Linked DNA regions of Homo sapiens: all the other regions are linked to region 2. The links are contacts of gene promoters, found by promoter capture Hi-C in blood cells and fetal thymus (Javierre and others, 2016). All regions are on one chromosome and are shown on one strand. Each heading gives the region's core, a stretch centred on a gene start or on the middle of the fragment in contact. The rest is flanking DNA. Distances are from core to core; before and after follow the strand shown.

Evidence for each region. Contacts are between HindIII fragments. The CHiCAGO score rates a contact against its expected background, and 5 or more counts as called.
Region 1: a fragment that was not itself captured here is called in contact with the fragment with the promoter of MESD in region 2 in 3 of 17 cell types (neutrophils, non-activated CD4 T cells and naive CD8 T cells); the score reaches 7.0 in neutrophils.
Region 3: a fragment that was not itself captured here is called in contact with the fragment with the promoter of MESD in region 2 in 1 of 17 cell types (neutrophils); the score reaches 5.2 in neutrophils.
Region 4: a contact is called between a fragment that was not itself captured here and the fragment with the promoter of MESD in region 2, in 4 of 17 cell types (neutrophils, monocytes, total CD4 T cells and 1 more). The highest score is 9.3, in neutrophils.
Region 5: a fragment that was not itself captured here is called in contact with the fragment with the promoter of MESD in region 2 in 1 of 17 cell types (neutrophils); the score reaches 7.3 in neutrophils.
Region 6: a contact is called between a fragment that was not itself captured here and the fragment with the promoter of MESD in region 2, in 2 of 17 cell types (neutrophils and total B cells). The highest score is 6.0, in neutrophils.
Region 7: a fragment that was not itself captured here is called in contact with the fragment with the promoter of MESD in region 2 in 1 of 17 cell types (neutrophils); the score reaches 10.4 in neutrophils.

The regions. Positions count from the first base shown.
Region 1 is chr15:81,285,378-81,289,736 of GRCh38, forward strand. IL16 (interleukin 16) reads left to right here. Exons shown (of 19, transcript NM_172217.5): 10 at 321-453. Among named protein-coding and RNA genes, the nearest start is that of STARD5, 37 kb to the right of the region's middle. RefSeq lists an enhancer at 1,401-1,480. The HindIII fragment of the contact is 6,054 bases long and covers 1-4,359 here.
Region 2 is chr15:80,988,445-80,992,631 of GRCh38, forward strand. MESD (mesoderm development LRP chaperone) reads right to left here and starts at 1,375. Exons shown (of 3, transcript NM_015154.3): 1 at 1,135-1,375. The coding sequence starts at 1,347. RefSeq lists enhancers at 456-1,070, 1,059-1,338, 1,071-1,684, 1,324-1,618 and a silencer at 1,369-1,648. The HindIII fragment of the contact is 12,917 bases long and covers 1-2,005 here.
Region 3 is chr15:81,385,081-81,388,818 of GRCh38, forward strand. The region is part of intron 6 of TMC3-AS1 (TMC3 antisense RNA 1); the gene reads left to right. Among named protein-coding and RNA genes, the nearest start is that of TMC3, 13 kb to the left of the region's middle. The HindIII fragment of the contact is 3,423 bases long and covers 116-3,538 here.
Region 4 is chr15:81,302,510-81,306,564 of GRCh38, forward strand. IL16 (interleukin 16) reads left to right here. Exons shown (of 19, transcript NM_172217.5): 16 at 1,040-1,141; 17 at 3,399-3,657; 18 at 3,911-4,036. Among named protein-coding and RNA genes, the nearest start is that of STARD5, 20 kb to the right of the region's middle. RefSeq lists enhancers at 728-1,927, 1,312-1,842. The HindIII fragment of the contact is 1,130 bases long and covers 854-1,983 here.
Region 5 is chr15:81,335,819-81,340,165 of GRCh38, forward strand. TMC3 (transmembrane channel like 3) reads right to left here. Exons shown (of 22, transcript NM_001080532.3): 17 at 3,576-3,686; 18 at 2,837-2,962; 19 at 2,028-2,106; 20 at 791-833. The region is part of intron 2 of TMC3-AS1 (TMC3 antisense RNA 1); the gene reads left to right. Among named protein-coding and RNA genes, the nearest start is that of TMC3-AS1, 14 kb to the left of the region's middle. The HindIII fragment of the contact is 3,810 bases long and covers 1-3,288 here.
Region 6 is chr15:81,403,278-81,407,624 of GRCh38, forward strand. All of the region lies in intron 6 of TMC3-AS1 (TMC3 antisense RNA 1), which reads left to right. Among named protein-coding and RNA genes, the nearest start is that of TMC3, 31 kb to the left of the region's middle. The HindIII fragment of the contact is 1,860 bases long and covers 1,134-2,993 here.
Region 7 is chr15:81,318,278-81,322,498 of GRCh38, forward strand. STARD5 (StAR related lipid transfer domain containing 5) reads right to left here. Exons shown (of 6, transcript NM_181900.3): 3 at 4,131-4,221; 4 at 1,062-1,179; 5 at 132-225. Among named protein-coding and RNA genes, the nearest start is that of STARD5, 3.8 kb to the right of the region's middle. The HindIII fragment of the contact is 3,928 bases long and covers 517-4,221 here.

The sequences.
Region 1 (4,359 bases), core at 936-3,435, 300 kb after region 2:
TAACCCACACCCTCAGTCTTTAATGGGCATAGTTAAATGTGAAAAGAAGGAGGAAAGTTACAGATGAACTTTTGTTAATGTTGACCCACTGTAAATAGGAAATGTCTGCTGCTTTGTGGTTGTACGGTAAGGGGGTATGGGATATGCTACTTTGGTCTGCCCTGTTCTGAGTTTTGGTCTGGTGGCTAGTGGGGTCTACTTATTCATGTGATTTTTATATCTCATCAAACAGCCCAGCCAGGAGTGGGCCCCTGGGGCAGTGACTGTTCAAATGTCTCATTGATTCACTTACTGATGGCTTCTTATTGATGCTTGCACAGGTGTGGGGACGAGATTGTGGAAATCAGTGATTCCCCTGTGCACTGCCTGACGCTCAATGAAGTCTACACGATCCTGAGTCACTGTGATCCCGGTCCAGTCCCCATCATTGTTAGCCGACATCCAGACCCACAGGTAACACCCACTGGGTTATCCTCTTCTTCTCAGGCTCACTCGTTCAGTACCAAAATTGGAACAAGAAATAGATGAAAACAGAGATGTTGCTGGCTGGGTTTGTACCTGAATTCCCAAGAATCCCTTCCAAGTTTCTGTAGTAAGAATTGTCTGCAGCAGAGGTCCACTAACAAACTCCTAGATATCAGAGGCAATTGACATTAACTTAGGGAAGCTCTTACAGCTGAGTTATAAGCTCTGGGGCAGGAAAGTAGAGACCCAGGGTCCCAGCTAGTAGACCAAGAAATTTATTCATTTATGCGTCTAGTAGGTACCCACTGTGGGAATGTCTGGAGGTAGGTACTGAAGATACAGAGGCAAGTTCATAGCACACAGTCCTGCCCTGCAGAAGCTCACAGTATCAATAAAGAGCCTGACATACAAATAATTGCAAAACAGAGATGGTAAGTCCTATGAGAATACAGGAATATAGCAGGGAATGGTTGATAAAGTAAAAAAATACCAGAGGTTAGTTTTCTCCAGGCAGAGAATATAAGGAAGATCATTCCAGGAGGTGGGAACACAAAATTCAATGTCACAGAGTCAAAAAGGGACCTGACATGGAAGGAGAGGAGTGGGTTCTGTGGGGCTGGAATGTAGGGTACTAGGTAAGAGTGACTGAGAACAGATGTTGGCAGGGCATTGGGGTTACACTGCAGAGGGCTTTCAACAGGATACTAAAGAGTTTGCATTTTATTCTACATAGTGAGGAGCTATGGGAGGTCTGTAGCTGTAGAAGGAGCATGTTCATATTTTAATTTTTAAACCTTTGATTGCACTGTAGAAGACAGGATAGAGTGGGTGGAGTGTGGGGTTTGTAAGAGGAAGGAAGCTGATGGTGAGAGCCTGAACTACACAGCAGCCATGAGAAGAGAAAAGAGAAGGGGCAATGTATTAGTCTGTTCTCCCGCTGTTGATAGACACATACCTGAGACTGGGTAGTTTATAAAGAAAAAGAGATTTAATAGACTTACAGTTCCATGTGGCTGGGGAGGCCTCACAATCACAGCAGAAGGTGAAAGGCATGTCTTACATGATGGCAGACAAGAGAGAATAAGAGCCAAGTGAAAGGGGAAACCCCTTATAAAATCGTCAGATCTTGTGAGACTTATTCACTATCATGAGAACAGAATGGGGGAAACTGCCCCTATGACTCAATTATCTCCCACCAGGTCCCTCCCACAACATGTGGGAATTATGGGAGCTAAAACTCAAGATAAGATTTGGGTAGGGACACAGACAAACCATATCAGGCAACATGAGGCAATGCTTGGGAAGACTCAACAAGAGCTGCTGGGCAAGTGGCTCTGGGGTAAGAGAGGGAGGAACCGAAGATATCTCGAATATTTTTAGATTGGAAGACTGAGCAATGGTCTTCCACCAGAAGAGAGAAGAGGAAAAGGTAGCAGGCTTGGGAGGGAGAGAAGAGCATGATCTTACTGTGGGACATAGTGAGGTGGAGGTACCACGGGGTGTCCAGGTAAAGATGCCCAGTAGGCAAGTTAGACTTAGGGCTGATAGCAACTATAACAGGAACCCAGGCTGGAGCTAGACTTGGGGGTTGAATCCCTGCTGTTGGTGAGAGCTCTGGGGAACCTGGAATAATCACCACAAAGAATTATTTAATCTTAATATGCACCAGGCATGTTTTTCAAAGATGTGACCCACACAACTGCATTTAGTTGTTGTGCAGCCTCCTGAAATCAGTGTGATATTTCCCCCCCAACTCACAGATGAGGAAACTGAGGCTTAGAAAGGACAAATAAGTTTCCCAATGGTGAAGCTACTAAGTAAAGAAGCTAAGATTTAAATCCAGCAAAGCCTGTGCTTTGAACTCACTGACTCCCAAACTCCCAGTGACACTTGGACAGAGTGGAGTAATGAGGGAAATCAATATATAATGGTGTGGTGGAATTCAAACCCAGCCCCATTCTGTGGATTGCACACTGGAGCTAAACACAATCAGAGACAAGCAAACTTCTTAATTAAGGCAAACAAATAATTGGCCTAAATCTCTGGACAATACAAGAAAAGAAAGAGGTCCCAATTAATTTGTCATTTCCTCCTGCTGCTTTTAGGACTACGGCAGAAAATCAGTGGAGTAGGGCGTCAGGTTGTGGGCAAATGCTGTAGCCCTGGGCTTAAGGAATGTGCATTCTCCCAGAGACATGGGACACACACAGAGAGGCCACAGAGGTGAGGGCCTTGAGAGTGAGGGAGCTGGAGTTCCAGCTGCTCAGATAAGGGAGCCAGGCCAGAAAGGACAGGTAAGGTTTAGAGCAGCAGAAAGACGAAGACACCCTAGGCCGTGGAGATCCAGGGGCACAGGCATAGGGCAGAGAGAAGAGAGCCAGGCCCAGCAGCAGAATGCCTGGCATGTGTCCAGTCTGCTGCTTGCTTATGGTTAATTTGGGCAACTCATCTAACCTCCAAGAGCCTCTGGTTCCTCAACTCTGACATAGGGGAGTGGTCTTTACCTTACAGGACTGTTGTGGATGGTAACTCTCCTCTAGTAAGAGTTTACCATCTGCCAGGCATTGTGCCGCAGACTTTAAATGATTTATTTATTGTTGTTTATTGTGGTAAAATACACATAACATAAAATTTACCATCTTAACCATTTTTTAAGTGTACAGTTCAGTGGCATTAAGGACATTCTCATTGTTGTGCAACCATTGCCACCATCCGTCTCCAGAACTCTTTCCATCTTTCAGAATTTAAACTCTACCAGTTAAACAAGTCCCTATGTTCTCCTACCAGCAAATCCTGGGAACCACCATTTTACTTTCTGTCTCTGTGATTTTGACTACTCTACGTTCATCGAAGTGGAATCATATAAAATGGGTCCTTTTGTGTCTGCCTTATTTGACTTCGCGTAATGTCCTCAAGGTTCATTTATGTTGTAGCACGGGCCAGAATTTCCTTCCTTTTTAAGGTCGAATAATCTTCTAGTATGTGTATGTGTGTGTGTGTGTGTGTGCGTGTGTGTGTATCACATGCTGTTTATCATCTGTTTTTGGGTACTTGGGTTGTTTCCACCTTTTGACTATTGTGAATAATGCTACAATGAACGTGGAGTACAGATTCCTCTGAGATACTGACTTCCCTTCTTTTAGGGTATATACCCAGAAGTGGAATTGCTGGGTCATATGGTAATTCTATTTTTAAGTTTTTGAGGAGCCTTCAAACTATTTTCCACAGTGGCTACACCATTTTACATTCTTATCAACAGAGCCCAAGGGTCCCGATTTCTCCATATCCTTGCCAATACTTTGTTATTTTCTTTTCTTTTTTTGAGACTGAGTCTCACTCTGTCACCCAGGCTCGAGCGCAGTGGCACGATCTTGGCTCACTGCACTGGGTTCAAGTGATTCTCCCACCTCAGCCTCCCTAGTAGCAGGGATTATAGGTGTGTACCACTGCACAGGCTAATTTTTGTATTTTTAGTAGCGATGGGCTTTCACCATGTTGGTCAGCCTGGTCTCGAACTCCTGACCTCAAGTGATCTGCCTGCCTCAGCCTCCCAGAGTGCTGGGATTAGAAGCATGAGCTACCATGCCCAGCCTCTTTTCTTTTTGTTTATAGTAGCCATCCTAATGTCCTAATGTGTGTGAGGTGGTAACTCAGTGTGGTTGTGATTTGCATTTACCTAATCATTAGTGATGTTGAGCATTTTTTCATTTGCTTTTTGGCTGTTTGTATATCTTCTTTGAAGAAATGTCTATTCAGGTTCTGTGCCCAGTTTTTAATCAGGTTGTTTTGTTGTTGTTGTTGTTGCTGAGTTGTAGGAGTTCTTTATATAATCTGCAACTCAACTATTTATCTGAAATATGATTTGCGAATATTTTCTCCAATTCTATGAGTTGC
Region 2 (4,187 bases), core at 125-2,624:
TTCTCACTCTGGCAGATCAAAAGGCTTTATTTGCTGGAGTCCAAAAAGAGACAAGGAGATTGCAAGGGAGACGGTGAATGGGGACGTTCTCTCTACACTCAAATCTATCCCAATCTTTCCATCAGCTGTTGATGACCACATGAAAACACAAGCCTGCATTCTTCTAGTCAGATGCATCAGGTGGTATTTTAAACTCTTGTCTGAAAGTCTTTCCCTTCTCCCGTAACACACACAGAGATAATCACAAAATAACAAAACATCAGTGTTGGAAGGAATCTTAGGACCCATCCTAACCTCCTCATGTTGCAGATAAAGAAACCGAGGCCTAGAAACTAGACATAACCTGCCCAAGGTTCCACAGCTATGCAAGTCAACCAGGACGATACAATCACCTTAGGAAGGGGAAAAGGCAGCAATGTGGTTTTGGCCAGTAATCTTTACCTTAAAGCGTATTACACACTCCCTGTAACTGCACACTCCGGTGCGTCCAAGTGACAAACCAGAAAACTTACTCTCCTTTGAACAAAAAGCGTGAGTTTCACGATACAGAGCCATTAGCCATTGATACTTCTCCCCTCAGTAAAATAAATCCACCCACAAAAAGCACAAAATTCCCAGCAGGGACATATACCAAAATAGGAAGTCTAAAATTATACTGATTTAGAAGACAGCTGAGATAACCATTAAGGAAGACCATCTTCACTGCAACCCACTCTCCCACCCACTCACCGCAAAACAGAAGGAAATGCTCTTTAGTAGATTGGGAAAGGTCACTCTCCCTGTTTGCAGGGCTCACTGACCACAAGAATCAACGCAAAGACAACCAGGGCACTGAAGGGTGAAGGGAGAGCAAAGCTGAACAGTGAGGGGCAGATCCGTGATTGAAGTGGTTTGAGAAATGGCAGGAGGAACAGGGCACTGGAATGACAGAGGGCTGGAGCGAGGGTCAGCAGGGCGCGCGGGTCAGAGGAGGAATGGAGGGTCAACAGTGGCTTCAGTGGGTCAGTAAGGATTCAAGGCATGAGTAGAGGAGGTTAGGGGGTCAGAAAGGTCCCAAGACAGAACAGGTAAGGGGTCATAGGGAACAGGGTCCCGCACAGAGAAGAGCCGGGAGGGTGTGCGCGCGCCGCGGACCTCCCATTGCTCCAGAAGACGCGCCATGTCTGCATCATTGTAATCGCGAATATCCTTCTTCTTCTTCCGGGGAGGTGGGGTAGACTCGTCGGGCGTCCCGGGCGAGCCTTCGGCCGCGCAGGACCCAGGCGGTGGTAGCAGTAGCAGCAGCAGCAGCAGGTCAGAGGCACAAAGCAGGACCACGGCCTTGCGCGCCCACCTGGAAGCCGCCATTTTCGCTGCGCCGCGCAGCGCCCTAGACGCGCTTACCCGACCTGCGCGGGCCGGACCCCGCCTTGCACACGCCTTCCTGTCCGCCTTTCCGAGGCCCCGCCTCCCGGCCCTCGCTAGCCTACCGGGCCCCGCCCCGTACCATTTCCTAACCCCCGCCTCTGGAAGCCCCGCCCCTCCGCCATTTTGGCCCCGCCCCACTGGCTCCTCCTCTTGGTCCGGCTGAGGCGCTCTGTCCCGGCTGGGTGGGTCCCTGAGTGCTCATTTTTCGTTTTCCGTCAGAGGCCGACCTTTTTCTCTGGAACGCACAAGCCAGGTCCAAAAGTTCCTTCAGGGCCTCCAGGAACCACTAACCAACGTCCCTGTTGACCTCAGTTTCTCGCCTGTGAAATAAATTGGAACTGGAAGTTCTGGAGGCTGCCTCGGCTCTAAAAAAGCCCATTTCTGGATGTCGGACGTTTATCCTCAGTCTCTTGCAATTTCCTTTGAGAACAGCCAGTTAAAAAGAAGTGAGTGGCAGGTAGGGCAACTTTTTTCAGAAAGTCATAAATAGTTCGAGTCCACTGCTTTCCTCATCAATAAAGAGGATTCAGTTCAACCAGCTTTCAATATTTGTTTTTTTTTTCCAAAAAGATCATTACTATTCATCCAAAAAAAAAAAAGCTTGCCTTTCTTTGATTTCAACCTAATACTGTAGGCTCTAACTAATCCTTTTCAAGGCTGAATCACGCTACTTTTTGTTTCTTAAAAAGATTTTGGCCAAAGATGCTTTGAGATTCTTCTTGTTTTAAACGGCTCATCAGCTGATGTCTTTAAAATGTTTAATTACATAAGACCTTAAAAAACAAAAAACAAAAAAAACCAAAGGCCGCACGGTGGCTTAAGCCTTTATAATCCCAGCACTTTGGGAGGCTGAGGTAGGACGATAATTTGAGTTTAGGAGTTTGAGACCAGACTGGGCAATAAAGCAAGACCCGCATCTCAAAAACAACAACAAAAAACGCTTCATTCTTTATACTGCTGCACAGTTTTATTTGGTATTGTTAAATTAATAGTTTATTTTCCTATTGATGGGCATTTATTACCAATTTTTCTGCTATTACAACAAAAAAGAGCTGTAGTAAACCTTATTCAAGCCTTGTTTGGATAGGATTAGTAGGCTGCATATAAAAGAAAACTGACTTTTTAAGGTGGTTTAAACAAGATAAAAGGTTTTATTGTGATTGACTTTTCTTTCACAGAAGCAGTGTAAACTCGAAACTAGGGCTGGTATAGTGGCTTCTCAGCCATCTGGTACTCAGCCTCTTCCTCATCCTTCTATCATATTAGCCTGTGGCTTCCACCCTCAAGGTCAGAAATTCCAGGATGGCTCCTGGAGCTCCAGTCATCAAGATGACATTCAACCAGAGGAAGGGAGAAGGCAGGCCAAACCAAGCACACCTTTCAAGTGGAGTCAACTTCTTTTAAGCAGCCTACTTGAACATTGCATACATTTCTGTTTACATCTCATTGGCTGGAACCTAGCTCTCCAAGGGAGGCTGAGAAATTGTCTTCTAGCTGTATACATTGTCATCTCAAATGAAATTAGGATTGTTATAAAGGGAAAAGAATAAAGTGGAGGTTGAGTAGGCAACTACGCCTGCTTTCCTTCACTCTTAGGACCAGTGCAATTTAAATTCTCTCACACCGTAGGAGTGGCTGATATTCTACATATTCATGCATGCATCTGTATGTAAACACGCTAAGCTATGACCTTTCCTATTGACGTTGAGCAGAAACAACTCATAAGAAAAAGATTTTTTCTTTTGTGAAATCATAGGGGAAATGTCATGAGCTTTCTCCCCAGAGCACATTGCTCCACCCAGTGGCTTGGAGCCCTATCCTAGTGCAGTCATACTAAAAAACATGCACAGCTGTGGCTGATCATGTGCTCTACTGGGAGGGGTCACCCTGGTAATTCATATTGCCAGCTTCAAAGTTAAGGGGCAAACGTGTTGGGATTCTTGGCCCACATATCTAGTTATAGAGAATAAGATCATTGAAAGTTTTACAGAAATTGTTGGGAATGTGTAGAAAGTTTCAGGGCTACTGACTTTCCTCTAAGGAGGAAATCAATTCGGCATATAATCCACTGATATGAAAACATCTGGATCAATTGCATTTTCAACATTTGGATATTTGAAACTTACTTTAGTGTTTGGAACTTGATTCCATTCAACTTGGGGGGAATTTTATTTACCAAAGACCTATTGTTAACCAAGAATCAGGTGAGGCACTGATGCAAAAATGAATATAACAATATCCTTACTCTGGCAGAGCAGATAAACAATATGCAGTAAATTTCATGCAGATTACAGGAGATCCGGGCCCAAAGGGATGATGTGATGATGATGATAATCTCTCCAATTTAAATAAGAGGAAATCCTGGTTTTACAATTACACAATTTGTCTGAGGCTGCACAGCTAGTGCAGCGGCAAGGCAAGAATCTAAGCCGAGGTGTACTGGATAACAAGGTCCAGTCTTCTTGGAGTCCTTCTTCCGCCACAGCACCATCTAGGTTAATCAGTGAGGCACTCAGGATGGTTAAATTGGGAGCCAAATGGAAAATGCATTGAAAAGTCTGGAGCGAGGAGCACTCAGATGGGACAAGAGTCTGTGCCAGGTACCAGGTGGTGCAGTGTAGACTGGAGAGGACAGATGTGAAAGATTGTGTGCTCATGGCCTAAGTGAAGCCACAAGTCTCTTCAGTGCTCTGGGGTTAATACTAACCCCACCTCTAAGTGATTCAGTGACTGTGGATGGTAAAGTTGAATCTCAGATCTAATTAGTGTCTTAACCTGAG
Region 3 (3,738 bases), core at 577-3,076, 400 kb after region 2:
CCTAAGATTCCAATCAACCCTTGCACCCGGTGATCAACTTTCCAACTGTCTTTCAGAAAATGATTAACTTCTGTTTTTTAACTAAGTCGTCCCCAGCAAACCATATTTTTGTGAAAGCTTACTGTTCATTTCTGCAGGCCTGAAGGGAGGTGGGGCTAGTAAGTCTCAGCCCCTTCTCTGCAAGCCTGCTCTAAACAGCAGTGACAGACATGGCATGGTCCACCTTCTAGTCATTAGATATAATGCCAAGATAAACAAGTTTGATTGATACCCTGGGGTGAAATTCCTTTTTGCACTCCAGGTACTGAGGAGAAGGCATTGTGTATGGGACACTGGAAGAGGTATGGGACTGTGTGAAGCCGGCTGTTGGGCATGGTCCACCTTCTAGTCCTTAGATATAATTCCTTTTTGGGCTCCAAGTACTGAGGAGAAGGCATTGTATATGGGACACTGGAAGAGGTGTGGGACTGTGTGAAGCCGGCTGTTGGGCATGGTCCACCTTCTAGTCCTTAGATATAATGCCAAGATAAACAAGTTTGAGTGATACCCTGGGGTCAAATTCCCTTTTGTGCTCCAGGTACTGAGGAGAAGGCATTGTATATGGGACACCAGAAGAGGTGTGGGACTGTGTGAACCCGGCTGTCGGGGGCCTGTGAGAGAAGGGGGATGAGAATGTGATTGGTTTTGAAATGATCTAAAATAGAAACTCCACAGATGGCCTCTGAGAAATTGAGACTCCATTCTGTAAAAAGGCACAGAGTCATAGAACTGTAGCGCTAGAAAGACTCTGGTCACCTGGCTCAATCCCCTGTTCTACAAAAGACGGGTCAGAGGCCTCAAGAGATACGACTCTCCAAGGCTGTCCAACCCATAGGTAGGAAAACTGGGACTTTTTGAAGTGTTTCTGTGAGAATGAAAATAAATAGCTGTAAAAGGCTCAGAATAGTGTTTGATGTAGTAAGTGTTCAAAATGTTTGATTGTGATAGGTTTATTTAAAACATTGGGCCACCTAAATTTCCAACATCAAAAGTGAAGTAACAAGAATGCTAATGAAATACAACGTTTTATCTAAAATAATGCAATCATCAGAGCCTTTCTGTTCCATCTGCCTCTGTGACTACTGCCCAGTCCAAGCCGCCATTGCCTAGATTGTCGTAGCAGCCTCCTCATCGTTGTCCTGTTTCTTTTGACGACTTCCAAAGACTATTTCCCGCCCAGCTACATCCCATTCTCCTCACAGCAGCCAGAGAATTTTTTTTTGTAAAAAATGTAAGTCAAATCAGGTGCCTTCTCTTCTAGAAACCTCCAGTGGCTCCTTTTCTCAGTCAGAGTAAAATCCACATCCTTACCCAGAGCTACATAGCCCAACAAGAGGGACCCTGTGCTGCACCCTGGAGCTCTTCTCCTGTAATTTGAGTGTCTTGCCTACCCTGCTCTGGCCACACTGGCCTCCTTGCTGTGCCCAAATACTCCAGGCCTGTGGCCTTGGGGTCTTTACGTGTGTCTTTTGCCTTGGTTGGAATGCTTTTTCCCTGCATGCTCAGTTACCTGCTCCCTTTCCTCCTTCAAGTCTCTTCTCAAATGTTGCCCTATCAGAGGGTATTTTTGGCCACCCTACATACCAGAGCAAACCACCAGCCCTCATTGGCTGCCTATCACGCTTTATTTTTCTTTATAGCATTTATCCCCACCAGATATTAAATATATACATATTTACACCTTGCTAGTCTATCTGTTCAGTACTATACTTTTACATGAAAGTAAAAAACAAACAAGAGACAGTTTACATATTATATCTTTCTTTTAAAAAAACATAACTTACTCTATTTGGGTGAATAAATGACAATTGAGCCTATGATTTGTTCTGTGTCTACTAAGAATCTAATTTGTCAACCAAAATAATCTTCCTGGGGAGATGCAGTGAACACTATGCTGCACACATAAACACATTGCATCACTCCATGTAGATTATTTTGGTTGATAAATTAGATTCTTAAGAGGCTTGGGGGTCAAATACTCCAGGCATTAAATGTCAGTTCTACTGCTTGCTAGCTAGAGTACTTCCACAGTGAAAGCTAGGGAGCTTTTACTGACTGTCCCTGAGTCATTATTTCCTTATTTACAAAACAGAAATAACTTTGCAACGTTGTAAAGATTAGCAAAATTGTATAGGAAAGGCCTACCACAGTGCATAGGGCGTAGTAGGAAACTAAAAACTGAGAAGGATGTTTATTCTTGTGTCTATAATAGTAGTGTCATTTAAACCCCACCATGAAAGCATGGCCAGAATGGTTTAAGTAATTTCTTATGAAATATGTGATAGCCATTATTATCATCATTCTTGACATTATTTTAAAATCAGCATTAAAGTTTGGTAAGAATGCTTTGAGATGAATTATTTTTTGCAAACTGAACTGATTCATGTAGAGAACTGCAAACAAAATATTTTGCCAATATACTGATTAACGACATAACATACACACTATGTGTGCTCTTTAATCCAGCTCCAAATGCAAATAAAACTTTAAAAATGCCCTCTCCTGTCTAAGAAACAAGCCCAAACAGTAGCCAAGTACATATATAGAATTTAACTCGGGGTGTCTGAATTTACTGTAGTTGCCCATGGATGGGAGAAGCAGCCTGCCAAGGCCCAGAGATGCAGGGTTTAATTCCCAGAGCTCACGGGAAGCCGGCTGATTGGTGAACGCGCCCGCACTGTGTAATTGAACATGTGCTCCCAGCCCAACTGCAGGAAGGATGAAATTTGTTAAGTGGTATCTTTCATGAGATTAAAAAAGGAAGATAAACTGTCACTGGTTATGATAGGGTCTTATTAAATTTCTGCCCTACTAATTTGGAAACTGTGATAATCCAGACTTGGCATATATGATACAGAACAAAAAAGTGGAATTAAATGCTGACACTTGGAAATTTTACATTATGGTGCACCCCTAGATTCTAGGGCTCGTTGTTGACTTAAGTCTATTTTGTTTCAATTCTGTGTATCTATTTTTAACCCTTAGGTGCCATCTGCTTGAGCGTTGTCCTGGTTCACTTCCAGTATAAAGCTCAGAGTGCAGGAATAATATCCAAGTGCCAGCAAAACCACTTGGGTGGTCGCAAAATGGAGTGAGGAGGATCATGAGGGCTGTGTTTCTGAAGAACCCACAGGGGGAGGCAGCAGGGATGAACTGCAAAAAAGTGGCAGTCTATGCTGCACACATCAGCCCCACAAAAGAATAACAAAATCCAGGAGCAGAGAGCTGAGCTACCGTAACTGAGAATGGCTCCGCAGTGGGGATGGTTTGAGAACCGTGACCTGGGTCTAGATGGCCCCTCTTGGAGCTCACTGGGACCCTGCATACATTCCCTGCCTATTGACCTCACACAGCAGTGGCTTAGCTCGGCTGAGAGGAGAACTGTCTGTTCCTCTTTGTTGGTTTAACCATATGATACACAATCCTGTAAACAAATTAATTTCCTCTGGGACTTCTGAAAGCATGCTAACTGCATTATCATTTTTTTCTGCACAAAGGAAGCTTAGCAAGAAAACAATTATGGGATGGACTTCAAATGATCTCCAAATGGCCATAAAATAGAGATGTAGTCAACAGAGAGGCAGGAGAAAAAAAAATTAACAAGGTTTTGTTTGCTAAAATCTAGGATTCATTTGATTTTAAAGCTGTGTGACCCACTTCCATTCTTTCTCCCTTCCATCAGCTTTCTGCACAAACCTT
Region 4 (4,055 bases), core at 169-2,668, 310 kb after region 2:
GGAGGTGAGGGTGCAGTGAGGTACATTCATCCTTCCATGCCTTTGGGTCTTAGGGGCTCCAAGTCTTAGGATCATAGGGACAGCTGCAAGTCAGGTGCTCTAGTGACGCTGAGCAAGTGAATTCTTTGACATAAGTTTACTCCTTAGTGCCAAGGTACAAACAGGTGCCCCAAGAACCTGTAGGTGTACTTTATTTGGTCTGCATGGTGATGAAAAAAATATTGAATTCTATACATGATAAAACCTGAATTGAAACCTGGACTTTAGGGAAGTGATCTGGTAGCGCTAGTTCTGTATGCCTACGTAGAGCTGACCCTTTGAGCAGATGTACTCGTTGGCGCTCTGCAGTTCCTATCACACATCTGCCCATTTGGCTCATTTTAGGGACCTGCCTGACTCCTATAGGCATCTGAGTTTGAGACCCCTGCTCTAGACTGGAATAGGAGTCTCTGACTGTGTCCTGGCTCCATGGGAGTCCCCGTCTAGGCTAGGAAGTACCGTAGTAATGTGTGTGTGTGTGTGTGTGTGTGTGTGTCACACTTGCACACTGTGCATTGGGGCAGGATGTTAGCTGGGCTTCCTTAGTGCTGCTGCTGTGACCCATGGAGAAGTAGAAGGGAAGAAGGAGCAACCAATTCCTGCAGAACAGCACTGACCCCTGTTTTGTTTTTTGTTGTTTTTTTTTTTTGTTTTGTTTTACCTGAAGTCCTACAACCTGACTTCATCTCACACTGTCCAATATGCTGATTTCTGGCTGACTTCATGGCACTCCCCCTGCCCGGCTGTGGACAGGGTGAATGAGAGAGGAAAATAATTATGCTTGCTGCTTTACATACATTTTTTTTTTCTTCTAAGCTTCCCATGACTCCTGAAGGTCCATTCTTTACAGATGAGGAAACTGAGGTTTGAGGAGGTGATGTAACTTGGAGGCTGGCCAAGCTGGGGTTTGAGATAACAAATCAGTCTGATGTCAGTCCGATGTTAAATTGTTCATCCTCTTGCAGTAAAATGTTTTTGAATGTATGTATTTCCTCTGCAGCAATTAGACGGCATCCATGTCACCATCTTACACAAGGAGGAAGGTGCTGGTCTTGGGTTCAGCTTGGCAGGAGGAGCAGATCTAGAAAACAAGGTGATTACGGTGAGTGGCCAAGTGAAGGGGCATGTCACAGCCAGAGGCAATGGTTCTGGGGGAGGGGGACACACTTGCCAGGAAGGGGCCCTGTGCTGGGGAAATGAAGAATGCATGACACTAGGCCACTGGGCAGGTCCTGTCCACTCAGCACATCCCAGAGCCTGGGGCTGCGTGGAGAGGGTAGCAGGCCTGGCCATGGGCATCTTTTCCTGTGGGTCCCACTATTCTGGCTCATCCAATCTGATCAGCATTGGCTGCTGCCTTCAGGTCACCTGTACCTGACCCAGATGGTTTCTGGTTCTGCCAGTTTTGTGGAGCCATGCTGCGGCTGCTCGCTCTCTAAAGCCGAGTGCATTGCTGTCATCCCAGGGCTGTGTTGTCTCAGGGTATCCTTTGTGTAGGCTGTGCTGGGCTCATTTGAATTTCCATGCCCAACTGAAAACAAATCCTCCAGTTCACAGCATCAGCCAGCATTCAACATACCACACCCCCTTGCAGTGGCAATCTGGCATGTTCCTGCGTGTCACTTCAGAGTCAATCATGTCAGTGGTGACTTCCTTGATTTCCTGATAAGTTTTCTATCACATAAAAAACACTTAAAACCTGTAAGTCTCTATTTCTCTCACTGAGTGCAGCTGAGTATTACAAAAAGATTCCTGACCGTGTAGTTTACTTTCTACTTGAAGAGGAGGAAAGAGAGCTTGCCTGTGGGAATGGCACTTTGGGTATTTTTCTCTGTCCATGAGTAGCAACTTCTGTCCACGTCATCTGGCCAGTCACCCTTGAGACACTGCAGACAACAGGAAACTAGGAGGAAGGCGCACATGTTGGCTGAGCACATGCACAAAAGCTTCTTTCTCCTTCTGTGTTTGAGCATTTCTCTTCCTTTCCAGATGATTAAAAGGGAACTAACGTAGAGCACCATCCACGGCCATGCTGAGCACTCACTGACCTGTTGTCTAAATTCATCCTACCCACACTTTGGATTGATAAATTGGTGGCATTTATGCTTCTTTTATAGAGGAGGAACCTGAGGTTCCTCCTTTAATTAACTTTAATCTTCGTTGGCCTAAAAATCCTCTAGCATTGAGGAACCTGAGGCTCAGAGGAGAGGTTCTGCTTCATGCTTGGATGTTACAGCCTGGGGATTCTAACCATGTAACAGAATTTTTCTAACACCAAAACAATTTAGAGAAGCAAAGAGCTTTGCTCCTATCATAAAAGCAAAACTACAGGTACCACATTTTAGTGGTTTCCATGCATGCTATCACTCAGTCCTCTTAATTATAATGGACCTCATTAAAGAGGCTGAGGCAGAGACATGAGATATTTTTGTGTGTTTGTTTATCCCACATATCTTGCAGAAAGGGGACCAAGAGGTGACTGGAGGTAAAGAGTCAGAATTTCTAGGGGAGGAGCTATAAAAATGTCTAGACTGCCTAGGAGAGTGTTTCTCAAAATGCATTCTGCCAAATGAGACCGAGAATTTCTCTATGAGAAAAGAATTCTTTGTTGAAACACTTTGGGAATCCCCATAATACCCTGCCAATACTTAGAAATCTGCCATGCAGATTTGCATTGTAGACCCTCTAAATGCCTTTTGCTTAGAAATCTGCTGCCATGCAAATTTGCATTGTAGACCCTCTAATGCCTTTTGCTTTTTAAAAGTAGACAATGTCAGAGCTTTTGTTTCACCCAGTATTCCTCAAGTTTCTTTGATTTTAAAAAATTTTTCTTGGCCGGGTGTGGTGGCTCATACCTGTAATTCCAACACTGTGCGGGGCCAAGGTGAGAGGATTGCTTGAGCCCAGGAGTTTGAGACCATCCTGGGCAACACTGGGAGACCCTGTCTCTATTTTTTAAAAAATAATAGGAAAAGCCTTTTTCTTACACAATACCCGTTAATATGCCATAGAATCAGTGCCTTGAGAAAACTACTCTGGGGACTTCTGACCTAGGGCAGGTGAAGCAAAAGATTTTATATGGAATCCCAACTAGAATCGTGGTGGTACACTATAGGACGTTGTGTTGGGATGGATTCTGAGGGCTTACCTGGTCATTACTGCTGGTGATCTCTGCTCTGGATGGAGAAGGAGGGAATGCTGGCCTCTGTGCCAGCAGCTCCAATCTAGGACACAATTATCTTTAATCTTTGTTGGCCTAAAAATCCTCTAGCATTGACTAACCGGTTCAATCCTCCTCCAGCAAGTATGTGGACTGGACTTGTGTGATTTCTGGTCCTGACTTCCTTTGGTTTGCTCAGGTTCACAGAGTGTTTCCAAATGGGCTGGCCTCCCAGGAAGGGACTATTCAGAAGGGCAATGAGGTTCTTTCCATCAACGGCAAGTCTCTCAAGGGGACCACGCACCATGATGCCTTGGCCATCCTCCGCCAAGCTCGAGAGCCCAGGCAAGCTGTGATTGTCACAAGGAAGCTGACTCCAGAGGCCATGCCCGACCTCAACTCCTCCACTGACTCTGCAGCCTCAGCCTCTGCAGCCAGTGATGTTTCTGTAGAATCTAGTAAGTTCTCCCAACTCAGTGGAAGCCACATGGGCCACATCCTCTTTGGCCATTTGGGGCCAGACCTGATGGGGCTACTCAGTAATTTGTGACCCCAAGAATGTGTGGCTGCCTAGTACACTGCCTGAGACGTGTTTACATGTGCCTGTGTGCAAACACGGGGGCTGTATCACCCCGGGCTCACTTGAAGCCCAGGGCATCTGTGGCCTGGGAGAGGAGAGGATCCCTAACAGAGACCTTGTGTTTTTCTCAGCAGCAGAGGCCACAGTCTGCACGGTGACACTGGAGAAGATGTCGGCAGGGCTGGGCTTCAGCCTGGAAGGAGGGAAGGGCTCCCTACACGGAGACAAGCCTCTCACCATTAACAGGATTTTCAAAGGTGTGGGGTGTGTCTGGTT
Region 5 (4,347 bases), core at 134-2,633, 350 kb after region 2:
TCTTCCCTTCAGGCCACAGCAGACTTCTACGCCACATGCTTCCATTCTCCCTGCTCTGCAGGGACAGGACAGAACCTAAGGAGGCTCAGGGAAGGGACCTGGGAGGGAACATTGCAAGGAAGAGATGGGCCATGGAGAGGAAGTATACAAAAGTGACCCAGACAAAGAGATTCTTTGGGCTTTCATCCACGTGAATGTGCTGCTTTTCCTCTCCTACTTCGATACTTCCTTCTGATTTTACACATGTTTTGGGATTATTCATGGGCCTGGATATGATATAAAAATTAAAGATTTAAAACAACATTTATATCCCTAGATTTTATTTTATTGTGCATAGTTACTGGTGAAAAAACACAGGTTATCAGGAATTTGTATTGGTAGTATACCGCAAACTACTTTAAATGGCTGTATTTTTAAATGCCCACTAACTGAGACAGCAGATCTCTGCATTTAAAAAAAATATTAGGACAGGTGCAGTGGCTCACACCTAGAGCTAGCTCTAGGGGCTAGCTCTCCCCAGCACTTTGGGAGGCCAAGGTGGGTGGATCATGAGGTCAGGAGTTTGAGACCAGGCTGACCAACATGGTGAAAATATAAAAATTAGCCAGGTGTGATGGCACGCACCTGTAATCCCAGCTACTCAGGAGGCTGAGGCAGGAGAATCACTTGAACCGGGAAGGTGGAGGTTGCAGTGAGCCGAGATCACACCACTGCACTCCAGCCTGGGCGACAGAGCAAGACTCTGCCTCAAAACAAAAAAACAACAACAAAAAGAAACGGAAATACTTACCTTCTACCATCTGGGCAACCTTTTTCTTATCCTCTGATCTTGCCTAAAATGCAAATGATATGCATGTTTGTTTTGGCTTTAGCAGGAAGCAGTAACAAATATTATTCCTGGGGGAAGAGAAAAAGATTTACATGCCATAGTTCTTACCTTGGACCATAACTGTACTACTATTGCCCCCTATGGACGGTATGCTCTGGGCTCGGGCCTGTTATTTGAGTGAATAAATGCAGATACCTGAGAGCTGAAGTTTTATGCCTAGCCAGTTTTATTTAGGGACAGCTAATTAACAGACCATGTTTAGATTCTGTCCATAATAGTTTGCCTGAATCACAAAGAAAAAAATACAGATCGACAACACTGGAGATGTATGTTTCCACCAAAATGGCCTTTGTAACTCCAAATGAATTTCCAATTAGAAGCTAATTTGTGTTTCTTTGCATGAATTGATGTTCATGGGAAGTTTTTTTTTTTTTCTGATAGAAGTGGAAGGAGTTTTTTTGCATGGGTGAGGTCAGTGAGGCATCTGGGGTGCCAAATTTAAGGAGGCACTTATTTTCAGGGCTGTGAAAGGACAGAATCAGCATTACGCTTACAGAGCCTCCTTAAATGTGGTGCTTTGGGAGCCTCACTGGCCTCATCCCAGTCTTGGGATCCTTCCTTGGGGTCTGGAGGACCCAGGGCACTAAGGGAACACCTGGGGTATGTGGAGGAGGAGAAATTGTGGGAGTTTTGGGAGCGTGTGTCTCCCTGGGACTGCTCTGAGAGATAGGGTTTGAGCCCCATGGAGAGAACGTAATGACAGCCACATCTAAAGGATATGAAAGAGGTGAGGCTTTAGGGACAAACAGTGCTGCTGGGCTCAGATGCCCAAGTTGACAAGGATTGGGAAGGGGCCCTTTCTCTCCCCTGCCAATCTACCAGAGCTCACAAAAGTACCTGGCACACTGAGGGCTTGGTGTGGTCACAGGGTGGGCACTGAAAGGCTCGAGGCAGCTGCAAGGCCTCTTGAGGAGGAAGAAAAACAGGAGCAGGCTTCCTCCTAGCAAAGGGGAGCCATCCCTGGGTATTCTTAGAAATAACTCTTGGACATCTGGGGATTGGTGGCCTTGCACCATAGTGGGTGGCCAAGAGTCACAGAAACCTTGAAGATGTGACTTCACTTGTATTCCCACGCTGGCGGGATCTCAGTCATGTGGTTGACACATATTCATAATAGCAAAGTTCATGAAATACTTGCGTTTTGGATCTGCATTTTGAGCTGGTGGTTGCTGAGCTTTAGAGACCGTGCGATGCTCTGGAGATAATAGATGAGCATGCTAGGACAGAACAACACAGGACAATGAGTGGACTGCAACTCGCTTTTCTGCTTTTCAGACCACATTCCCTGCAGATAGTTGGCAGGAATGAGAGGCTCCCAGGCCAGATGCGGGCTATCCACTGACCCTCCGCTAAGGACAAAATGTATCAGCAAGTTCTCAAGCCAGTGAGCACTGGGAAGGGGCTGCTTTTGTTTTCTCTTCCTGGCTTTCCACAGCACCCTCGTTGACCTGGAATTCTGCACTGGTGATAGCAATAAGGAAGAACTGAAAATGGGGGAGAAATTTTGCAGTCTATCAAGCTATGAGTACAGGATCCACTCACTTTTATTTTTTTTTCCTTTAAACCAAAATAAGCCAAAGCTACTCAGCTGAGTTGTGAAATTCCTTTTCAGGATTATTTAAGTTTCTAGAAAATGATAATGGCATTCAGCCCCATTCTAGTGATCACAGTAATTGACCAAATGGTGTTGATGGATCAATAACCACCTCAATGGCAATGGAGTGCTCCCTCATCGCCCCTCGCTGAGACCCAGTGGCTGTGTCTCCATGGCACAGTGCCTCATGTGACTCTGGTGTGTGACTCAGAGTCCCTGTTGAGATCATCAGGCTCTAAGCCTAAGTGATTTTTGAATGAACTAATAAATTTTATGTAATTATTGGAAAGCAGCGTTTTCTTGTTGGCCAAACACACAGAAGTCCCTCCAAAGCTGGCAGGTGTGGTACTCACAAAAGCAGGAGTACTGCGGGCAGGATGACCACGGGGCTACTGATGTGTCCAACCACGGAGCCAAACCACACAGGAAAGTCTTTCTCAATCGTTTCTGACACAATGTCATAAATTTTCTCTTGTCCACTGTGAGAAAGAAAAACATAACTCCAGATTTTATTGCTCTTGGCAGAAAGATGCTGCAAGACATCAGAAAATGGCTGGATGCCTGGAGGCCAATTCATAACATTCCTCAAATGATTTCATATCTAATTAATATGGAGGATGGAAGATGGGGTCATTAATCACATTGCATGTATGTGTGTGTTCTAATCGTGTACACTAAGGTAGACTAAATATTCCATATTGTATCAAAGCTGACTTGAATGCTGGATGAAGATACTAGAGGGTTTTGCTTGAATACAGCTGGATAATATAGGAAAAAAAAGTGCTGTGCACTGTGGTTTAATAAAAGCTTTCTGTGTTTTGACCAGGTAGAATGTCCTCTAGCACAGAACAATGCTGTTTCTCTTTTTCACTTTAAAAGGATTGTGTTTTTTAACATGAGCACAGAGATGATTATACTAAGGGCAGCCTTCTATTAAGGAAAGAGCCCTGGTCTTGGATTTAAAACATGCGGGTTTGCAATCTTTCTATCCTGTTTACCTGCTCTGTGAGCTTGGAGGAGAATTCAGTTCAATATGATCTAATTCCCTTACAGCTGTCAGTCACTCCGGGCAGAGCTGGGAACGAAACTTACCTGAATGGCCCACAGTTTAGAGATGGCTTGTATCGGACAATAGCAAAAATGGTTGGCAGCATGCACAGAAACAGCATAAACAGGAGCATTGCCAAGTAGAAGTTGTTGGATCTGCAGATAAATCAGATGTCATGTGTTAAGTTCACTCCATAGCCAGTTGCCAGGGTTGCATATGCCCAAAGAGCTGCCACAGAAACGGTTGCCCTGACTCTTTGCAAACTAAAAATCCTCCTCTCAGGGTTACCTACAAATGGATCTGTCATAGGGTCACATGCAGCTTAGAAACCTAGAAATCAGCGTTCAAAGGAACTTCAGAGATCTCCCACCCAACCTGTTCATCTAATAAACATTTGCTGAGCACCTGTTCACCTCAAACCATAAAAGTGGTGAACTCACCCTGGCACCCAGGAGTTCCACACAGTAAACTCAATTTATGGAAAAATCTTAGAAGCATTGCCCATCCATCTGGGTCCTTACCTAATGGTTCCCTCTCCTATTCCCAGGCTTGAACTTGTCTCTTACGTCTCGGGATGGTTTGGCTCTTTTGTTTATGATTCCTGACTCTCTCACTTGGGTGTGATTTGCACTCAACCTCTTATCCACTCCGCATGTGGCTGCCCAGGGTATGTGTTCTACCTGATTAAGCCCCGGTCCCTGAGCCCTAAGCTAGTGTCAGGGAGTTTGGATGCCCAGAGCTCCCCTGAGGGCAGCTTAGATCTGTTTGGTGTGCAAGGCCCTGTACACAGTTCAGAAAAGAGAATGAGGGGTCAAT
Region 6 (4,347 bases), core at 814-3,313, 420 kb after region 2:
TGTGCTCCAAGAACTGCGTTGGTAAATTTGTTTCAGCTGTCATTCAGCTAACAGAGTCTTGTGAAAATTTTCCAATGTCACTTGTATTCTATTAGTTGTGATTCTTGTTCTTAAATTGCTGCGTGGAAACTAATCTATGGTGACAATAATCAGGGCTTGGGAAGGCTTGATTGTAAACAGGCTCATGACCCTGGGAACTTTTGGGGATGCAGCAATTATTTTCTTATATTGATTATGTTGGTAGTTCCATGGATGTAGCTTGCCAAAACTCATTAAACGATACACTTCGAATGAATGCATTTTATCATATGTAAGTGAGACCTTGGTAAAGTTGATTTTAAAATGTGAAGTGTTGGCTGGGCGCAGTGGCTCATGCCTGTAATCCCAGCACTTTGGGAGACGGGGGGTGGGGGCGGGGGTGGATCACGAGGTCAAGAGATCGAGACCATCCTGGACAACATGGTGAAACCTCGTCTCTACTAAAAAAAAAAAAAAAAAAAAAAAAAAAAAAAAAAAATTAGCTGGGCATGGTGGGTGGCCCAGTCCTAGCTACTGGGGAGGCTGAGGCAGGAGAATCACTTGAACCAGGGAGGCAGAGGTTGCAGTGAGCCAAGATCGCACCACTGCACTCTAGCCTGGGCAACAGAGAGAAACTCCGTCTCAAAACAAAACAAAACAAAACAAAACAAAAACAATAAGACGTGAAGTGTTATAATACCAATTTACAAGAAAGCATATCAAAAATGACTCATTGAAGCAGGTGGTTAGTGATTAAAAATTTAATGAATATACTACAAATCAGAAAAATACACTAGATGTAAATAATAAATAGAGCACCTGTGAAGACAGAGGTTGATCTGTATATGCTGAGAGAAATGAAGATACAAGAGAAATGATGTCACCAGCTGAAATGCTGTCACATTGTTGTCTTCATTCTTTTAGAAGAACTAAAGAAATAAAAGAATGAGCATCTGAAAATTAGATTGTATTGATAAACATTGATCCATTCACCCACCAGTCCCATTGTGTTCTGTTACAAAGTTTTTCAAAATGGCATTGTGAAATCTTTCAAGGGTTTGTGAAAAATAAGGTATAGCATCTCTTTGGTGAGCCAAATGAGTTTTTCTAAAATAAGCTTGGTAATTTTCACCCTAAAGTTGATGTATTTTAGTGTAAAAAATGAAGAGGTAGTGAAGTGTAATGGAGGGTGGGAGCCAGGCTCCTCACTGTTGGAGTGGGAAGTTACAGACGAGCAAAGGGAGGAGGCTAGAATAATCCATGGGTAATTGATTAGAGTGGGAGACATCTGTATAAACTCATATTTAGCTTAATATATAAATAGTACATGAATATTTATAGATGTATCTGTACATGGGTTATATAGATACGTGTATACATGTATTTCTCTATTTTGTCAGCTGAGAGGAACTAGAGGTAATAAATGACACCCAAGTAGTAGCAAGTAAAGTTAGAACTCAGATCCTGGTTTCTAATACCATTCTCTGATAGAAGGAATGAGGGCTCCTTGGAGCAATGGATGATTCTAAGGATGGAGGAGAAACATCTTGCAATGCTAGTAATAAGGAAATGCACAGAAAAACTGACACTGATGGGCCTATGCCAAGGATACAGGAACTGACAGAAAGCTCCCAATGGCCAAAGGCAGAACAAGCTGTGCAACAAAATAAACAAAGTGGTACTGAATTATAACCCAATATATAAAATAAATATTGATGGGTCTACACTGATATAAACAAAATGACTGCATAAATAAATAAATGGAGAAGAATAGCCAAATCTCCAGTGCAGAAGAATTTCAAATAATTTATGCAGATACTGTGAGGGTTAATTTTGTGTGCTAACTTGGAGGATGTTTTCAGATGTGATTAGCATTTAAATGGGTGCACTTTGAGTAAAGCAGATTGTCCTCCATTATATGGGTGGGTCTCATCCAATTAGTCGAACCATGAATCAAACCAAAAGACTGCCCTCCCCAAGCAGGAAGGAATTCTTCAGTGGACTGCCTTTGGACTTCATCTATATTCTTGGCTTACCTGAGTCTTGAGCCTGACAACCCACACTGCAGATTTTTGACTTCCTGGCCTCCAGAATTGCATGAGCCAATTCCTTATAATAAATCCTTCTCTCCACATATACACACACATACATCCTATTGGTTCCGATTCTCTATAGAACCCTGACTAATACAGATAATTTGCATTCAAGAAAAGTGAGCATGATTCGCATTCCTTACGTGTGGGCTGCATATACTGACTTCCTTCCAAAGAGTACAGTGTGGAAAATAGAGGGAGAAGAGTAACTTTACAGTGGAGAAGACTGGCAAACTACCTCAGCCAGGTGACCAAGGTCAACATCAACAATGACCAGTCATGTTGATGGTATGTATCCTTGATATCATGAAAATGGCACTGTACCTGTGATCCTCCTCTCCTACCCCATAATCCCAGTCTAATGAGAAAAACATTAGACAAATACAAATTGATGAATATTCTACAAAAATACCTGACCAACACTCCTCAAAAGTGTCAAGGTAATCAAAACCGAGGAAACTCAGAGACTTTCAAGGCCAAGAGGAGTCGAAGGAAACAGGACAATTAAATGTAGTATGGTATCCTGAATAAGATCTTGGGAGAGAAAAAGGACATTAGGTATAAACTAAAGCAATCTAAATGAAGTATGGACTTTGGTTAATGACAATGTATCTATATTGGTTCATTAATTGTGACAAATATACCATATTAATATAAGATGTTACTAACAGAGGAAACTGTGTGGGGTACACAGGATCTCTCTGTACTAGTTCCTTAATTTTTCTGTAAATGTAAATCTACTCCAAAATAAAAAGTTTGTTTAAAAAAAAAGAAAAAGGAGGAGGAGGAGGATGAAAAGATGGAAAAAATAAACTAGGGAGGCACCTTTTAGAGTTCTACTTCTCACAGCAAAAAGAACTACAAGTTATTCCACTACCAAGAAGCTTGCAGGGTTAGCCACAAAACCAATGATAAGTATTGTACCTGGGAAAATAATCAATTAATCTTTGCAATTCTAGTCAGATCATACTGTTGGACACCACATCATAGCAATGGCACATGATAGATTACAACAAATGCTATTGTTTAAAAATTATCCAAAATGTAGAAATAAAGCAAAAGAAGATTGCTCGTGCTTTCAATATCATATACCAGACCAGCATCTATCAGGCCCATCAAGCATTATTTCATTTTTTAAAAGATGGACTCTTGTTGATTAACTACTTTCTGTTAATTAAAGCCAAGACTCTGAAGTCACGTGTTAACTTGTAGATTTTTGTCTAATGGAGATGCAAAACATTAACTAGTTATATCTCTGACTTAGCAAATTTATTTTGGTATTCCTTTCCTAATAGACTGTGTAATCTTTTTTTTCTCTAATTTTTCTTTCAATCATTCTGTGCACGTTGCTGGTTTCCTCATCAATAAATCAACAGCTCATTGACACACATTTGCTTTATATTTGTATGAGTGTAATGTTTTTAACTTTTTTTTAAAAAATATGCTTTTATCGTGCATGTTCAAGGAGCTATTTTGTGTTGCAATTAGATGACATAGATCACTGGTATTTGATCATGCATGTTTGCAGTACATATATGAGAAGAAGCTCTTGGTGGCTTCTGTTTATCAAAGCAGTTCTTTAATCAAAGTTTTTAAAACCAAAAACTGAAACTAAGACCTAAAGTTTCTTTAAACTAGAAAACCTAGATATGTCATGAAGATAGCCACTGCTACTCAAATACAACTCGTACTTGGAAGCCAATCCATACATTGCCTTTCTCTTAAAAAGCACTAATTTACCAAATATAGAGCTCCTGACCTTGATTCAGTGTTCACAAAAATTGTAAAAATTTTAAATATAATCAAATCATGCCTACAGAGAATGTGTATTTTTAGCAAATTGCACCAAGAAATTGGCAGCAAGGACAAGATTCTGCTTTTCCCTGTTGAACCATCCTGGCTGCCAAAAGAAAAGGTTTTTGAAACAAAGAAAGAGCTTTAAAAAGTTTTTATGACACCCGTGATACCAGTGTGACAAAATGTGCACAGGACTTTTTCTGTCCTCTGACAATTTTAGAATGAAGTCCCTGAGCTGAAAACAGAAAGTGTGAAGTGTTATCAGATTCCAAAAAGAGCTGCCCAGGAGATGCCAAGAGATGGAAGAATTTGCCTGGATCCCATCAACTCACCACAGCCCTTCCTATATGTAAGAACAGGAACCAGAAAGAGAAGGGACCCTTCAGAATCAGAGCCCAGGGCTACGGTTTTTTACTCTCCACCGCTGCCCAGGCTAAGA
Region 7 (4,221 bases), core at 1,231-3,730, 330 kb after region 2:
ACAATCTAAAGAGCTATAAGGCATTTTTCTTCTTTTGAATCGTAGTCAAAGTGCCCCTTTTCACAGAAGGTCCACAGGGAAGTCACAGTTAGGTCTGAGCCATGTACCTCAATGCAGGAAATTATCCTTACCCTGGAAGAGGTTCACAGAAGCAACCACAAGGATGGTTAAATCCTCTCACAAAACCTGGCTTCGGGGGACATAACGGATGCTCCACATGGGTGGCTGGAAGACAGTGCAGAATCTCGGTGAGTTACAACTTCAGACGGTCAGGTCACTGCCATTGGGGTGCCATAGAGCACACAGACCAGACTACCTGCAGCCCTGGAGTCTGTGAGGGACTCCTGCCTCTTGGCGTGAGTTCCCCCTACTCCCACCCTACTGCCCCTTACACTCACACATACAAATACACTCTCACATGCGTGTACACAAACTCACACACAGACACACACACACTTGCACTCACACACACTCACTCATCCACATTCACACATAAACATGCACATAGCTTTCCCAAGCTTGTCAAGAATATCAGAGAAAAGAACATTCTAGAACACAAGGTTTGGTCATGGGAGGAGGCAGGTGCCTCTCTCAAATCTCAGCCAGGAGAGGCATGGATGCATCCAACTCTCCCGCGTAGAAGAATTGGAGGAATGGCAGGGGCTGTGCAGAGGCAGGAGCCCTGCTCCTCACTGGGCATTAAGGGAGTGGACAGCATCCAAACCCTCAAGAAGACACGGCCATAGATTTTGCACACAAGTTTTTTGCCACCCAACTAACCCACATGTGTACAGCACACACCATGAGCTTCCGCAGGAAAAAAAAAAAAGGGGCACTGGCAAAACCGTGACTTGAACATAGAATTACTGGCATATGGACTGTCTTGCGTCAGACCCCCATGGCCCTGAGTCCCCCCAAACCCAACCAGATGAGGTAGGGGACTCAGAGTGTGAGTTTCTGGTGATTTCTGGTTGCTTGGCTTTCCTTAAGGAACTGTGGGGTGCAGAAGAGAAAGCTCGATATCGCAGGAAGGCATGGCAGCTCCTCCGGGCATCACTCACCGTTGGAACTGATGGTCCCATCCTCATATCTCTTGACTAGCACCAAGTCCACAAAATCTCTGGGAGAAATGAGCTTCATGGCAGCGGAGGGAGTGGAGGTTCTGCTTACACACAGGGTCTGCCAAACCAAAGAAGCATGTAGCTGTGACTGCTGGCCAGACATCTTCTCCCAACTCCCACCCCATCCCTCAAGGTCTGGGAAAGGTACTAGGGCTGACAGTAGGGTGGCACTATAAACAGTTAAGATCCAGAGCGAGTCTTCCCAGGAACTGGGTGTCATGGAAATACACCCAGTTTGTAAGACGAGGGCTGTGACACAGGCTGCCCACAGCTGTCTAGCTGCAGACCAGTGCCATGCTGAGGTCACGTCTCATGTGACCATAAGAGGTACCATTTATTGAGCACCTAGTAAGAGCCTGGCTGGACAAAGCTCTCAGCTGTCCCTTACCTTTAGAAATAGGAATCATTAATCCCTCCTACAGGTGAGGAAACTGACACTTAGAGAGACTAAGGAACTCAGCACGAAGCTCATGGTGGAGATAGGATTTGAACAGGGCCAGAGCTAGGGAGAGGGAAGAGAGGCCACTCTTTTTTAGGGCTGACCCTGCACTTGCTCAGCCTCCTATGTTGTGCCTGGGGCAACTCTTTGGTTTACCCTAGTCCCAGCCCCAGGAGGGAATACCTTGAACCTCACTCAATCTCAGCATATCCCAGTAGTCCACACTCTCATTTTATAAACCAAGGATGCTGGGCTTTCTCCCATTCATCCCATCCTGCAAGAGAGTGGGGCCCAGGCTCTCTCGAGGTCACAGTGGAGAAGTACAGGCCAGGCCTGTGATGGAACAGTCCTGGAGAGAAGTCTCGGGGTAGGTGAGAGGGGCTGGTAAAGGTCTCCATCTCTGTGTCTTTCCCCTCAGGTATTAAGACTTGGGGCATCGTGTGTTGCTGCAGAACTTTTCATCAGGGACACTTTCGGCCTCAGGAAATTAATCTTCGAATGGCATGAGATGCATGGGGGCACTTGAGCACTTTGCAATGGGTGCAATGAGAATAAATTTCCAGGAAACTACTCCGTGTTTCCTTCATCCCCTAATGACCTGCCTGGGAACAGGCTGCACCTGCACACAGGGTCTCCTTTCCCACTTGAAGAAAAGCACAGCATATGCCCATTCATCTAGAATCATCCTATCATGAATTGTCCCAGTGTGTAAAATCCTCCAGGGTGGCAAAGGGACAATTAGGAGTGCGGGCGGCAATATGTAATCAAGGCAGTACACACTGGTATTAGAATTTCATGTTTTTCCCTTTCTTAAGCATATTCCAAAACTTGGTGTTAAAAACTAGGCAATTTTGCCATTTCTAAATTCTGGTATTTTGTAACAGTAATGGCAGAAGTGATGAAAATTTTGAAAAAAAAATCATACTGCTTCCACCCCTGATGACTGCCTCCAAGTGCATCATTCCTGAGGTACAGTGTCTGGAAACTAAGATGAGGAGGACTTTGGAAAGAAATTTTGAAGACAGCAGCAGCACATGTCATAAATGCGACAAACTCATGGCATGGCCCTGTATCCTATCCATCCATCCACCTATCATCGATCATCTATCTATTTTAGAATTAGGATATTTGAGAGTTGCCAAAAGCATGCTGAGAAATGTCAGTCTGCAAGGAAGAGCCCTTTCTCCACATTTTCATTGTTTCACTAAATGATAAAGAGCTACCACTTGGCAATTCTCCACTTTTTTGTAAACCTGAGCTCACCAGTAGCCTGTGCTTCCCCTCTACTTTGCAGTTGTCTATTGAAAAGTTTGTATCTTTTCATGGGCTTATGAGTTAATTAGAAAAAAGAGAGCTCCCATTCATCTCATCTAAAGACGCAAAATGTTTTACTTGTCACGTTTAATATTTATCAGAATTTATAATATAATCATGTTATTTTAATGAATTACACTCGTACCTCAATCCAATTTTTTAAAAAACAATTAGTCTTGGCCAGGCGCAGTGGCTTACACCTGTAATCCCAGCACTTTGGGGGGTCGAGGTGGGGGGATCATGAGGTCAAGAGATCGAGACCATCCCAGCCAATATGGTGAAACTCCGTCTCTACCAAAAATACAAAAATTAGCTGGGCATGGTGGCGTGCCCCTGTAGTCCCAGCTACTTAGGAGGCTGAGGCAGGAGAATCACTTGAACCCAGGAGGCAGAGGCTGCAGTGAGCCAAGATCACGCCACTGTACTCCAGCCTAGCGACAGAGTGAGATTCCGTCTCAAAAAAAAAAAAAATTAGTCTCATGATTACATGAAATATATGATTAAAAAAACTTCTATTTCTATGCATATTTATGATGCAAGATGATGACTTCCAAGAATAAACATGTATTGTATTAGGATAAAATTCAGAGGGCTATGTGGAATGGAAATTTGAGTTCCAGGAAAACAGCTATATACCATTTCTGATGATTTAAAAAACCTTGTTCATGTATTTTAAGTAAAAATTTATATATTATTTAGACACATCTAAAAGAATGATGTCATTGCTTTGTTCAAAACTGAGATTTACATGTCAAAAATGACATGCTTTGCAACTTATGAAAATTTAGTTGTAAACTAAATGTTATTAATAGACATCAACTGGATGTGTGAGGATGATGCATAATTTCTCAAAAATCTGTTGGATGCATGTAAGCAAAAAGCGTGAAGACCCTCATACCAGAGGGTAACTGGGGTCATGCAGGTACGTGGAGCTGCTACTGGCCCAGGCTTCAGGGAAGTGGGTGCCAGGGGCTGAGGATCCTGTGTTGCCTAGTGCAGCAGCCCCACACAAGGAACAGGTATGCTCCCCGCAGAGACTCTGTTTGGGGCTTCTCTCCCTCTCTGAGTCATGAGGTTTCCCACCGGGAAACTGGGCTGAGGCAGGCCTCCAATGCTGCAAGCAGTGGGCAGCCTGTGCTTGCAGGACACACCCCCTTAACAAAAGGTATCACGGACCCCTTCCAGAAGAAATGGGAGGGGGTTACTATAGCCTGGCCCAGACACTATCTAGAGATAACATGCTTGGAAAGACTTACGTCAGTGATGCTTTGGATAATTTCAAAACCGGTCACATTCTCATCCCACTTCACTCGTAGGCCTCCAACAGCTGGCTTCACACAGTCCCAC